2 separate regions of the Homo sapiens genome follow, and region 2 is linked to region 1. Evidence: promoter capture Hi-C in human tissues and cell types (Jung and others, 2019). All regions are on one chromosome and are shown on one strand. The core of a region is centred on a gene start or on the middle of the fragment in contact, and the rest is flanking DNA. Distances in the headings are between cores, read along the strand shown.

Region 1 (6,842 bases), core at 3,018-5,517:
ACTCAGGAGGCTGAGGTAGAAGGATCACTTGAGCCCGGAAGTTCCAGGCTGCAGTGAGCCAAGTTCACACCACTGCACTCCAGCCTGGGTGACAGAAAAAGACCCTGTCACAAACCAGAAAAAAAAAAAAAAAAAAGCAAATCTCCAATGCGTAGAAGCAGAAAGTAGAAGAGTGGTTGCCAGGAGCAATAAATAAATAAATTGAGAGCGTTTTAAAAAATCTAGACTTGGTACTGTTTCTGAAAGGATGATTGCAAGTGTGTCAGACCGGTGAGGTCTCAAGAGTTGGGCAAAACGCGGTTTTCTTGTGTGCAGTGGAGCAGCAGGTGTGGGGAGGGGGGGTGGGGGGCCTGTTGACCAGGCAGCAATGCGAGAAAGCTGCATCTGAACCCCTGCCCAGGCTGAGGCTGGGCACGCAGTCAAGGCCCTGGTAGAGACTTAACCAGAACTGGTCACTGGGCCCATGGTCAGGGCCCTGGAGGAGACTTAACCAGAACTGGTCACTGGGCCCACGGTCAGGGCCCTGGAGGAGACTTAACCAGAACTGGTCACCAGTGTATTTGGTTCCAATTAGAACAACAGTTCAGTTACATATTTATGAGGCAAAAGACAGGACTTTGGAGGATGTGTCCAGCCTTGTCACAGGTAAATAAGGGACATCATGAATCTCATCTTTGTCACCTGGGGACAGGGTTCTGAGCTGTTTCCAGAACATAAAGGGGGGGACTTCCTAACCTCCCAGGATCATAGGGCTCAGGTAAAGCTTATCTGTCAATTTTCCTTAAAAATAATCATTACTGTTATATATTATTATGTATGTATATACACACACACCTCAGATGAGGGCTTGACTCTCCCTGAAATATTAACACACCCTTTCCACCTATAACATTGCCCCCTCGCCGCCGATTTCTGTCTCCAGCCCTCTGCTGAAAATCAGGCCACGGGTTCCACAGCCTGGCTGCACAATGCGGTCCATGGGCCAGAGCAGGGCCTCCTGCTAGCAGGTTGGAAATGCAGCGTCCCAGTCCCCAGCCAGCTCTGCAGCACCAGGACCCACAGGTCTCTGGCAAGACCTGTCCTCCCCTCAGGGCTAGAGTCGCACTGCACTGGAATTTCCTGCAGTGAGATTTGGGTGACCCTCCCCACTCCCAGTTGCCCGTCTCCTGTAACCAGGCAGCATGTGGTCAATTGACTGGCTTCAGCCTCCAGGACAGCCTGGAGCTCCGTGGGGTTTGGCACATGCTGTGGCTCCACGAAGATGCCCACGTCATGGTTCATCACTGCTCGGTGGGTTCTGCTGCCGTTATCTTTGTCCTCTGTACTCACATCCCATTTTCTCAGGTCCTCCCGGCCTTGGGGATGCTAGACGTTCCTTCTATCTTGATGGGCACCCCAGAACTGAAGTACTCCTGAAGCCCTTCTAACTTCCAAAGGGCAGCAGCTTCTACAAAAAAAGCAACAAGGGCCAGGCACAGTGGCTCGCGCCTGTAATCCCAGCACTTTGGGAGGCCAAGGTGGGCGGATCACCTGAGGTCGGGAGTTCGAAAACAGCCTGGCCAACATGGAGAAACCCCCGTCTCTACTAAAAATACAAAATTAGTTGGGCGTAGTGGCGCATGCCTGTAATCCCAGCTACTTGGGATGCTGAGGCAGGAGAATCGCTTGAACCCAGGAGGCGGAGGTTGCAGTGAGCCGAGATTGAGCTATTGCACTCCAGCCTGGGCAACAAGAGTGAAACTCCGACTCAAAAAAAAAAAAAAAAAAAAGCAACAAGACGGCTGAATTCCTGAAGGGAGGAGGGGCATCATGGGTGGTGACCCCACAGAGGCCCCCTGGTGTGGCCCCTGAGGCCCCTCAGACTGAAGAGGGCCTCCTGCAAGGGAGCTGGGTCCCCCGGGGGAGGGTGAATTCTGAGTCCCTGAACTGCAGGGCAAGCTGACCCAGAGCTCCAGCACTGCAAAGCCTCCCCCGGAAAGGGCTGTCTGGAGCGGCTGTGGCCAGCACAGTCACTCCTGGGGTGGGTGTGCACCTGGCTTTTGCATCATGGCTGACTGTGCTGGTGGCTTCACAGAAAGGGAGTTTGTGTGAGGATGCTCGGGTGCCTGCTGGGTGCTTGGCACTGGGGTCGGGGGGGCGGTGAATGGAGGCACCTGAGGGACACAGTCCCAGGTGGGAGCTGTCCCAGGTGGGAGCTGTTCCAGATAGGAGCTGCTGTCTCCCAGTCAGGTCCCAGGTTGGGGCTTGGCCAGGCCTGGGCTGGAGCGGGAGACCTTTCTAGCTGCCTCGGTCTGGCTGCCCACCCTGCACAGAGCCTGGGGCTCTGGCCTCTCTGTATCTCTCCTCTCCACTCTTCCTGGAGGGCACCGCTCTTATCTGACCTGCTCCCCCACAGTCTCCCTACATCTGGCCCAAAAATACACTTGGTGGCAGTCCCGCCATCACACTCAGGCTCGGGAGCTGGCGGCCCCTGGTCCGTGCTGCCTGCCACGCTGCTTTCCACGGCAGTGGTGGGAAAGGGAGGTTAGAACCCCATCTCCATGGCCAGAAGGCAGGAATTAGGGAAAAGGGGAGCCGTGAGGCTTCCAGGCCTGGGGTTGGAACAGAAGCTGCGCGGTGTGGGGCGATTTGGGCGCAGGACCCCGGGTGCTGGGAAGTGGGGAGCAGGACTGTGTCTGTTGCTCCAGAAAGCGCGAGGGATGCGATATAGGAAATTCGGGCGTCAGTTAGAGCCCGAGAGGGGTTCAGGGAGTCACTGACTTAGGCAGAGAGGAGCCCAGACGGGGTTCGAAGACCCTGGGGACGGACGCCCACCTGTCAGTCCTGGACTGTGGGGCACCCGTAGGCCGAGGGGCAGGAGGCTATGGCCCTGTCTCCTGGCTTGGGTCTAAACATCCCAAGGAGGTCAGACCGTAGAGTGGGGGCTGTGTGATCTTTCAAATGAGGGACGCCGCGTGTTACCAAAGGCCAGTGCTGAGGAGCTGGGCTGAAAGCTTGGGGAGTTCCCAGAACCAGCAGACTAGGAACGGGAGGAACCGTGTCGGGGGCTCTGCTCCGCTGGGCACTGACCCCCACCCCGCCCCCCGGTCTTGCAAGGGCTGGAGAAGGGTGAAAGGCAGAGGCGGGAGTCCGCACTTAGGGACCGGTCCGTTCCACACGCTGCTGACCAGGCTCCTGGGTGGCGCTCGCATGGAACATTCCGGAAACACCCATGGGAAGGTCCCAAGTTGGTTCCGAAAGGCCCTGACGGACGCGCAGGGGACGCTGAGCCTGTGATCCTCGCCTCACCCAGACGAGGCCGGGCTGCTTCTCACAGGAAAGTGCGTCTGGAGTCCGGGGACGGCCTCCTCCTGGGGCCTGTCCAGGTCGCCCTGGGCCTAAATTACAGGCGGGGAGAGGCCTGTCGGAGGAGCCCCCGCTCCAGACCCCTGGGGGACCCAGGGCGAGGTCGCCCCAGCGCCTCACGTCTGGGGGCTCCCCTTTGCCACGTCGCCAGAGCAAAATTCAAAATCTGCAGTTCTGGCAAATTTCCGGGGCCTCCCGGACACGAAAAGCAGCTGAAATCTCAGGACAATGTCATTGGATGCGGACCGAGAAGAAGCCGTTCGGAACCAGAGCTGCCCCGGATTCTCCCAGGCCTGGCTCGCCGGTGGGGGGACCCCGGTCCCTGGTTTGGGGGGGCAGGAACGGGCGGGCGCCCCTGGGGGCTTCTCATTTGTGTGTTGGTCTCGGCCTTGAAATGCAGCGGAGAAAATAAAAAATAAAATAAAAATAGGAGTCAGGTGTCAGAGTCGGGTCGGCCAGGCACTGAGGTTTGAAGGAATCGCAGAAGAAGCTCCTCTCACCCGGGTCCAGGCCGCGGGGGTTCTGCGGGAGGCGCCCCCGATTCTGCCCGCGGGACGCCGCGGCCTCGGAAGCCCCGGGAGCAGGCCCCGCCCCGCCCCCACCCTCCTCTCTCCCCAAGTCCTCCCGCCCCCCCAGCCCCGCCCCTCCCCCGCCCTGGGTGCTCCCCTGCCCCTCCCCCGGCCCTCCCCCGCCCCTCACCCGCTCCTGCCCCTCCTCTCTCCCCAGGTCCTCCCGCCCCCAGCCCCGCCCCTCCCCCGCCCTGGGTGCTCCCCTGCCCCTCCCCCGCTCCTGCCCCTCCTCTCTCCCCAAGTCCTCCCCGCCCCCAGCCGCCCCTCCCCCCGCCCTGCCCCCCCCCGCCCCCGCCTCCAGCCCCGCCCCTCTCCGCTCCCCGCCCCGCCCCCACGCGCCCGCGGTCCCGCCGGAAGGACTTAAGCGCCCCGGAGCCGGGAGGCGAACTTGGGACCCGCTGGCCTCGCTCGGTGCGCGCCTCCCTCCCCGCATGCAGCCCGCCGAGCGCTCGCGGGTCCCCAGGTGTGTGGCGCGGGGTGCGGGCGTCCCCGGCGGCTGCGGTCCCCGCGCGGGCCCGCGACCCCCCAGAGGAAACTTCGGGGACGCCGGCCTCCTTCTCTCGGTTTTGCAGGATCGACCCGTACGGATTCGAGCGGCCTGAGGACTTCGACGACGCCGCCTACGAGAAGTTTTTCTCCAGCTACCTGGTCACGCTCACCCGCAGGGCGATCAAATGGTCCCGGCTGCTGCAGGGCGGGGGCGTCCCCAGGAGCCGGACAGGTGGGTCCCGGGGGCGCAGGTGGGTCCCGAGGGCGCAGGTGGGTTGGGCTGGGACGGGCCGGGCAAAGTCCGGGCTCCCGGAGCGGAGGGAGGGGGAGGAACCTTTCCGGGCAGGTCGGGACGAAGCTGCGGGCTCCGAGCTAGGGCAGCCGCAGGGACCGGTTTTCCCGCTTTGAGATGGGCCGGCGGGTCGGACGCGAAGGAGACCCGTCCCTCCCAGCAGGGAGCCATATCGGGATGGATCAAAACTCGATCCATGCCGGGCGCGGTGGCTCACGCCTGTAATCCCAGCGCTTTGGGAGGCCGAGGCGGGCGGATCACGAGGTCAGGAGTTTGAGACCAGCCTGACCAACATGGTGAAACCCCGTCTCTACTAAAAATACAAAATTAGCCGGGCGTGGTGGCTCCTGCCTGTAGTCCCAGCTACTCTGGAGGCTGAGGCAGGAGAATCGCTTGAACCCAGTAGGCGGAGGTTGCAGTGAGCCGAGATTGCGCCATTGCACTCCAGCCTGGGCGACAGAGCGAGACTCCGTCCTTGTGACGGGACCCACAGGGCCCTGCTCGACCTGCCGCTCCTCCGCGACCCCAGGCCTCCTACTGCTGCGGTGAGCACCGGCCTGACCGCCCGCCCGCCTCGGGGTTAGCTGCAGGGCCCCCTCCTCCGGGGCGCCCCAGGCTTCCCTGTGCGGAGGGCACCTCCTCATTTCTGCCTTTCCCAGCACAGCCCCTGCTGGAGTCAAAAACCCTTCCTCCCTGCAACGGATTTTTCATTCACTGCTCAGTCCTCAGAACCTGGGGCAGTGCCAGGCGACTTCCCTGTGTGTTCAGTGAATGAATGAAGTGTCTGCCTGGGGTGAGGGCTTGGTGGGAGTGTGCCCTGGAGCTAGGAACTCAGAGAAGTGGGGTCAAAGGGGAGTCCTGGGGGCTTCCTGAGAAGGGGGATGTGAATGGCAGCTGGGCTTCCAGGGACCGAGCAGTAGGGACCTGGTGGGGAAGGACAGAGATGAAACCAGGGGCCCTGCACCTGGGCGGAGGGTCGGAGGTGTGTGGTGACCACGGCCAGGCACAGAGAAGCCAACTGTTAAAGGTTTTCCAGGCAGGGGGTGACAAGATCAACTTTTGCTTTTATTTATTTATTTGAGACAGGGTATCCCTCTGAGTGCAGTGGCACAATCACCACTCACTGTAGCCTTGACCTCCTGGGCTCCAGCCATCCTCCCCTCTCAGCCTCCCGCATAGCTGGGACCACTGGTGTGGCCACCACTCCTGGCTAATTTTTAAATTTTTTATAGAGATGGAAGTTAATATCCTATATGCTTCCCACGAATGCATCATGTCCCATCCCTGTGGCCTCTGCATGTTCACATGTTTCCAGTGGAACGTGTGTCTTTATTTTTCCTTTTCATTTATTCTTTTTGATTTATTTATTTTTGAGACAGAGTCTCACTCTGTCGCCCAGGCTGGAGTGCAGTGGTGCGATCTCAGCTGACTGCAACCTCCACCTCCTGGGTTCAAGTGATTCTCCTGCCTCAGCCTCCTGAGTAGCTGGGATTACAGGTGCACACCACTACACCTGGCTAATTTATTTTTTATTTTCTTATTTTTTTTATTTTGAGACGGAGTCTCACTCTGTCGCCCAGGCTAGAGTGCAGTGGCATGATTTCAGCTCATTGCAACCTCTGCCTCCTGGGTTCAAGCGATTTTCCTGCCTCAGCCTCCCAAGTAGCTGGGATTACAGGCACCTACCACCACGCCAGGCTAATTTTTCTATTTTTTAGTAGAGATGGGTTTTACCATATTGGCCAGGCTGGTCTCAAACTCCTGACCTCAAGGGATCTGCCCACGTTGGCCTCCCAAAATGCTGGGATTACAGGCATGAGCCACTGCGCCTGATTTATTCTTAAAAGTTAACTGTCTTTTAATTTTAAAAAGTAACGTAAAAGTATATAAGACATGTGAACTTAAAAAGCATAATTTATGTACATGGTAAACACTTTAATCATACTGAGGGCTACAAAGTGCAACAGGGAGTTTCTCTCCCACCCATGGCCCCCATCTCCTATAGAGATGACCGCAGGGGACTGTCCTTCCGTCCCCCTCAGGAGCAGAAGTCCACGCTTGGTTCTGCAGTTTGCTTTAAGAGCAGGGGAAGTCCGTGGGAAGTCCTGTGGCTGTGACCTGGAGGTTGGTTACAGCGGAGAATCTGA
Region 2 (7,041 bases), core at 1,025-3,524, 140 kb after region 1:
TGTTTCCTGTCCACCACAGCCCTCATGTTTTATTTTTTTTTTCTAAAGTTAATTTTGTCCCCTTGGTATGTGATTTCCATCTCTTTAATATTGTAAATCTGACTGTAGGAATTTTAACGCACTTAGCCTAAAATGGTATCTTTTTTTTCTTTTTAAAGAGATCCTGTGTTCAGCCAAGGCCTAAAGGATATCTTTTAAATTTGGTCATTTTTCTTTTTTTTGTCTTGAGACGGAGTCTCGCTCTGTCGCCCAGGCTGGAGTGCGGTGGCGTGATGTGCAAGCTCCGCCTCCTGGGTTCACACCATTCTCCTGCCTCAGCCTCCCGAGTAGCTGGGACTACAGGCGCCCACCACCCCACCCGGTTAATTTTTTTTTTTTTTGTATTTTCAGTAGAGACGTGGTTTCACCGTGTTAGCCAGGATGGTCTCGATCTCCTGACCTCGTGATCCGCCCGCCTCGGCCTCCCAAAGAGCTGGGATTACAGGCGTGAGCCACCGCGCCCGGCCTAAATTTGGTCATTTTTTTGACTGATGTGCTACTTCTTACTAGATTAGGGAGATGCACTTAGCTTTTAAAACCTGAGTTCCTGTTACATGATGAGGCTCTTGGACGTGTGTCTCTGACTCTGCGTTGCGAGCAGAGTGAGGGATGCAGGATGATCCCTGGTCCTGTCCTGTGCTCCTACCATCGAGCCCACTACCTGGCTGGGGAGACTTGTGAACGCATCTCACCAAACCCTTCCCAACAGACCCTCAGCGAGCTCTAGCAGCTGCCAGCTACCTGGCCCAGAAAAGAAATACACCCATCGTCTCCTACTGATATCATTTAGAAAACGGAAGATTTCAACCTACTTAGGAAAGCTATTAATACGGTCTGTTCTCTCACTTAAGTAATTAACGGCCAGGTCACACTAAAAATGTATACATGACGTCAAGTCAAAGCCAAGACATCTACAAAGCCTAAGACGCTGGTTGTGCAGCTGCAGGAAAGACCTGGGATTCAGGCTAGATTCTGAGGAGTAAACTGTGCTTAAAGAGACATTTAGAGACCCATGCAGGCATCTAAGAACCCTGTCACCACTGCGGACTGTGACTGTGGACCTGAAGGCCAAGAGGGTCAGTGGTGCCCTCTCACAGGAGCTGAGGAGTTCACCTTCCCTGCTTTTCTCATCGTGCTGTTCAACCACAGCACTGAACACAGACAGAATCCTCAACAGAACTTCTATGTCTCAGCTCTCAATCATGTGGGTGAGGGAAGATGGATGAGGTCGTGTTTTGATGAAAAAGTGAACAAGCTTACCATTTGTCTGCAGTGGTCCTGCCAGCACGTGTTAATCTTCTTTAAAAATAAAACACTATCTAGTGAGTCTGTACAGATCTGCTAAGGAAAACTTTAAAAATGCTGGCCAATTTAATTATTACCTTTTTTTTTTTTTTTGAGATGGAGTCTCGCTCTGTCGCCCAGGCTGGAGTGCAGTGGCACGATCTTAGCTCAGCAGTGCAGCCTCTGCCTCCCAGGTTCAAGCGATTCTCCTGCCTCAGCCTCTTGAGTAGCTGGGATTACAGGCGTGTGCCACCACGCCCAGCTAATTTTTTGTATTTTTAGTAGAGACGGGGTTTCACCATGTTGGTCAGGCTGATCTCGAACTCCTGACCTTGTGATCCACTGGCCTCAGCCTCCCAAAGTGCCGGGATTACAGGCGTGAGCCACCGCAACCGGCCATTATTACAATTTTAACCCCTTAATTTCAGCTACCTTCTCCACTGAATACTACACACCATTCAGTAACTGGAATACTGAAAGAATATTAGTCTTGAATGTTCATGTCCCCCCAAAATTCATAGGCTGAAGCTCTCACTCTACGGTAATGGTGTTAGGAGGCAGGGCCTCTGGGAGGTGATTAGGTCATGAGAGTGGACAAGCCTCAAGAATGGGGTTACAAAAGAGACCCCAGAGAGCTCCCCTGCCTCTTCCACCACATAAGGATGCAGTGAGAAGGTGCTGGCTATGGACCAGGAAGCGGGGCCCCACCAGACATGCAATCTGCCAGTGCCTTGACCCTGGACCTCCAGCCTCCAGAGCTGTGAGCAACAGACTCCTGCTGTTGATGAGCCACACTCTATGGTGTTTTGTCATGGCAGCCCCAGTGGGCTAAGATACACTAGAAGTTCAATCATGGATCTCTGTATCTCATCACCAATGTGCACTCAGCTTGCCTGTGCTGCTTTCCCTTCCCACGGCCCCGCCTGCCTCTGGCCGCTCGCCACTCCCTCTCCAGCCTCCCTTCATCCTCTCCTTCCTTCACTGCCAGACACCTTCAAGTCCCTGCCGGCAGAAACACACCCAGGCCTTAAGTGCCCTGGGGGTAGGTGGCGGGACAAAAGGCCCCACTTCACAAAGGGCAGACACTGAACATACTCCCACAGGGGGGCTCCTGGAGATGGTGACTGGCCTGGTAAGAGTCACTAGGACTATTTTTTAAAAATTAAAAGAGATGGCACCTCACTATACTCCTAGGCTGGTCTTGAACACGTGGTCTTAAGTAATCCTCCTCAGTCTCCCAAAGTGCTAGGATTACAGGTATGAGCCAGTGTGCCCAGCCTGTGGCAAAGTGCAGCTGGACAGGAAAATGGCTCAGGTTTAACTTCCAGCCTCAATGAAAACTAACATGAACTCTCATCCATGCACCAAATTAGGAACACTCTTACCTTGACTCTTAGAATGTGTATTTTTAGGAAAAGGCCCAAAAAGTAGTTTAGGACAAAGAACCCAGAATATGGGCTCCTAGAGCAAGTGGTCTGGTGTCCCTCAGGTTCATGCAAAGCTGAGAATCATCAATGACAATAAACTGCTTTATGGTTTACGAAACACTCTTCACATCCACTCTCACTGAAAATCTCCCCAACCTCGTGGTGCAGACATTGTTCCCTTTGTACAGATTAAGAAAATGGCTTGTCAAAGGGGACAGAACATGGACTTCCTACATTTTAACTCTTGATCCACCGCCTGTCAGCAACACAATACTGGCCAAACCAAGGGACTTCTCTAGGTCTGTTTCTGCCGTGCAGCAAGACACTTCACACTCAAGAGCCAATGTGAGGTGGTGACAACATCCTCACACACAGAGAGGAGGAAAAACACATCAGTTAAGTAGGATGCACAAATCAGACATGAGCTGGAGTCTCAGGGTGGCAACGAGTGGCCTGACAAAGAAAGAGTGCCAGGGAGGGTAGGGTGCCAGGCAGAGCCTGAGGAGGAATAAACAGTGCTGAGGATAGCCAAGGGGCTCCCGGGGGGTCTGAGTCCTTGTCACACCAGGAAGTGCTGTGACCAAAGCTACAGGGGCCTGGCTAAGACAGCTTACTCTATTTTTTCTTGAGGCTTTGCAGAATTCTCAGAAGCACTGCCAGAAAATTAAAAACAGACACTTACAGCAAAGACCTAATGGTTGAATGGTTAACAGGTTCCTCTGGAAGTACTCTTTACAAATTGTTCAAAATTATAATGGCTCATTATATTAGGAATCTACAGAAACAGTCTGGACAAAACAAAAAAACCCATCCCAAGTGCATCTGGACAGGCTTCAAGGACCCCCAACAGCCATCCTGCAGCTCTGACTCCAGGAGCTGGACGGGAACTGCGGCCTGGACCTCCCAGCAAGCCTCTCTGCGGGCAGGCGGGCCACAGCAGCCGAAGGCGGAGCTTTGCTTCCAGATGAGGGTGCACAGATCCTTTAAACTTAACGGGGTTAAACTGACACCAGTCAATCTGACACCACTGGGCAGCTCAGGTGTTGTGAAGACAGAGTTCCACCTGGGGCAGTGTCTTGTTAAGATGGAAAGTCCAATGTAAAGTGTTCATTAAATGAGAAATACTTCCTCTAAAATAGCTCTGTAAAATCAATATAGATCCTCAATCAATAATTTTTTTGTTATTTCCCACAGAAAAAAACTACAAAATGGTAAGCTAAAATCAGTGTGGCATTTACTAAGTAAGCTTTGGCCTTCTAAACATCAAAATCAATTCCATATTCTGGGATATAACACATAGCCACAATGGTGTGCAAGTAATTCCAGGATGTGAGACACACAGACACCGTGAGTCTGTCAATAGTGTATTCTCGAGATAGGTTCTTCAGCAACCATCCTTTTTCTCACTTCAGAAAAGGGCCAATCTTCATTAAACGATTTATACAGCCTACTGAGACGAGTTAGGCAGGTCTTCAAACAGCAAACAAAATCCAACAGCAGAAATGCTTACACCATAGAAAAAAACCTACCTATCATATCTGTAACTAAAAAAAAAAAGAAAAAGCAAAAAGACGGTGCTTCTGTTGGGGTAGAAGAGGGATACATACATTTTCTACACTTGGTTATCTGCTTCTGCAATTCCAGGAACAAGTGGCCCATCTGCTGCCTGTACCGACAGACCGGACAGACCGCGAGGGGACAGCCCTAGGCCGACCCTCATTCATCCACACAACCCATGAAGGCAGGGGTGCTTGTTTTGTCTCCTCTGATCTGGCCGAGCATTAACAGGGTTCTCTTGGGCTTTCGTCTCTTCATCTGGAAAATATGGTCAATAAAGATACCTACGGCTCAGGGTGTTGTGAGACAAAGCAATTCATGAATGTGCAGAGCTTGGCCTACTGCCAGCAAGTGCTCCGTACACGATATCTGGTCAAGTGAGAACAGGCACAAAGTCTTTCTAAGGAAAGACAAAGCCTGCTGTCGCCAGTGCGGATCATAAAGGCACACTTAGAGGAAACTGGAGCTTTGCAACTTCCCCAACAGCCAAGGTTCCCAGCTCACTCCCGTGCCCTTCCCTTCTGACCACACGGCTATCATGGTGTCCACCACTGCCTGGCATTCTGTGGCTGACCAGAGCTGCAATGCTGTCAAGGTGAACCAGGGGAAGGAAAATGTGAGTTTCATCTATAGTTATCTACAGGTTAGATTCTGAGGACAGTTGGCTTGACATTTTTTTTTTTTTGAGATGGAGTCTCGCTCTGTCACCCAGGCTGGAGTGCAGTGGTGCGATCTCGGCTCACTGCAAGATCTGCCTCCCGGGTTCATGCCATTCTCCTGCCTCAGCCTCCCGAGTAGCTGGGACTACAGGTGCCCGCCACCACGCCCGGCTAATTTTTTTGTATTTTCAGTAGAGACGGGGTTTCACCGTGTTAGCCAGGATGGTCTCGATCTCCTGACCTCATGATCCGCCCACCTTGGCCTCCCAAAGTACTGGGATTACAGGCGTGAGCCACCGCACTCTGCGGGCTTGACATTTTTGAAGAGCTCCTGTTGCCCACGTAGCTTGGCTGGGTGGCACGTGGTCCTGCAGCATGTGGTGTGGGTTCTGCAGCAGCTGCCTGTGGCTGAGCATGTGTATGAGTGCAAGGGTACAAATGGCCTTTATTTTGAGGAAGGGACGTCACCAAGAGCAGCTATCTATTTTGAAACGGACAGCTAAGTGCAGAATTTATCAAACATGTGAGACAAGAAAACGGATGTGGTAAACGAAGAAGATGGTAGTGAATGACTCAATTCCACAAAAGCCCTTTTTCTACCTGCACATCTGATGGGTTTCATCTATAATCTAATATCAGCATACAATCAAAATATAATCGGTACATAACATTACTTAAATCTGGCCGGGCATGGTGGCTCACGCCTGTAATCCCAACACTTTGGGAGGTCGAAGCAGGCAGATAATCCAAGATCGCAAATTCGAGACCAGCCTGACCAATGTGGAGAAACCCCGTTTCTACTAAAAATACAAAATTAGCCAGGCGTGGTGGCGCATTCCTGTAATCCCAGCTACTCGGGAGGCTGAGACAAGAGAATCGCTTGAACCCAGGAGTGGAGGTTGTTGCGGTGAGCCAAGATTGCGCCATTGCACACTAGCCTGGGCAATTAAGAGCGAAACTCCGTCTCAAAACAACAACAACAACAACAAATTACTTAAATCTTAGAAAGTAGAGTTACTTGAAGTACTGGAATATCCCAGAGGCAAAAGAAATCTGAATATGCAGACCTTGGAATACTCCCTGCCACACAGTATCTCAGCATCTGCCATCACATTAACATTTCCCCAGGTGAGACTGGGCTGGGTCAGAACTCTCTTCCAGCAAAAACAAGCTTTTTGAGAGCAGGACCCGTGCCATTCATGCCTGTCCCTGGTCCCCAACGCACAGTGCTGAGTTGGACAGAAACACCCCATGTTTACTAGGTTAACGTACGAATGTAGCCTAAAAGCCTTCATCACAGTAACCAGCCACTTCCTGGTCTCATCATCCCCTCAGACTCTACTTACTGGTCACTAAGCCGCCTGCCATATTAAACTCGCCCCTCGATTCCCACAAGATGACTCTCCAGGTTCTCCTCTCATCTTCCTGACAGCAGCCCTCATCCACCTCCTCTCATGGCTCTGCTCATTTTCTTTTTAGAGATGGGGGTCTTGCTCTGCTGCTCAGGCTGGAGTGCAGTGGCGCAATCTCAGCTCACTGCAGCCTCGGCCTCCTGGGCTCGTGCAATCCTCCCACCTCAGCCTCCAGAGTAGCTGGGACCACAGGTGTGAACCACACACCCGGCTAATTGTCGTCTAGGCTGCTCTTGAACTCTTGGGCTCAACTGGCCCTCCCAACTTGGCCTCCCAAAATGCAGTGCTAAGGTTAGAGGCGTGAGCCACTGTGTCTGGCCACTCTGCTCATTTTTCCTGGGCATCTCATCCATGTCTGGAGCCACTGGATCTGTGTCTCCAGCCCCAAATGCACAACAGGCATCTCTACCTGAGTGCCTCCTCACCTCCTTCCAAATCAACATGACCACGACAGACCCTCCCCGCCTCAATCCGTGTCTCCTCCTTCCAAATCAACGTGACCACGACAGACCCTCCCCGCCTCAATCCGTGTCTGGTTCATCCTTCCACAGCAGTCAGATCCTTTCCCTCTAACCATAAGAGGTTTGCTGGCAGGATGCTGCCATTCCACCCTGTGGTTTTGCTGCCCAGTCAAACCATTGTGGTGTGACCCCTCACACCACA

What was found. Contacts are between HindIII fragments. The study calls those that stand out against the background at their distance.
Region 2: a contact is called between a fragment that was not itself captured here and the fragment with the promoter of GRTP1 in region 1, in 1 of the 25 tissues and cell types used here (aorta).

The regions. Positions count from the first base shown.
Region 1 is chr13:113,361,555-113,368,396 of GRCh38, reverse strand. It overlaps GRTP1 (growth hormone regulated TBC protein 1), which reads left to right and starts at 4,267. Exons shown (of 8, transcript NM_024719.4): 1 at 4,267-4,377; 2 at 4,487-4,635. The coding sequence starts at 4,346. It overlaps GRTP1-AS1 (GRTP1 antisense RNA 1), which reads right to left. Exons shown (of 2, transcript NR_120385.1): 2 at 6,529-6,838. RefSeq lists enhancers at 626-1,319, 2,014-2,707, 2,708-3,401 and a silencer at 4,389-4,683. The HindIII fragment of the contact is 3,925 bases long and covers 1,879-5,803 here.
Region 2 is chr13:113,222,304-113,229,344 of GRCh38, reverse strand. It overlaps CUL4A (cullin 4A), which reads right to left. Exons shown (of 20, transcript NM_001008895.4): 4 at 1,300-1,369. Among named protein-coding and RNA genes, the nearest start is that of CUL4A, 16 kb to the right of the region's middle. RefSeq lists an enhancer at 6,103-6,952. The HindIII fragment of the contact is 5,587 bases long and covers 1-5,067 here.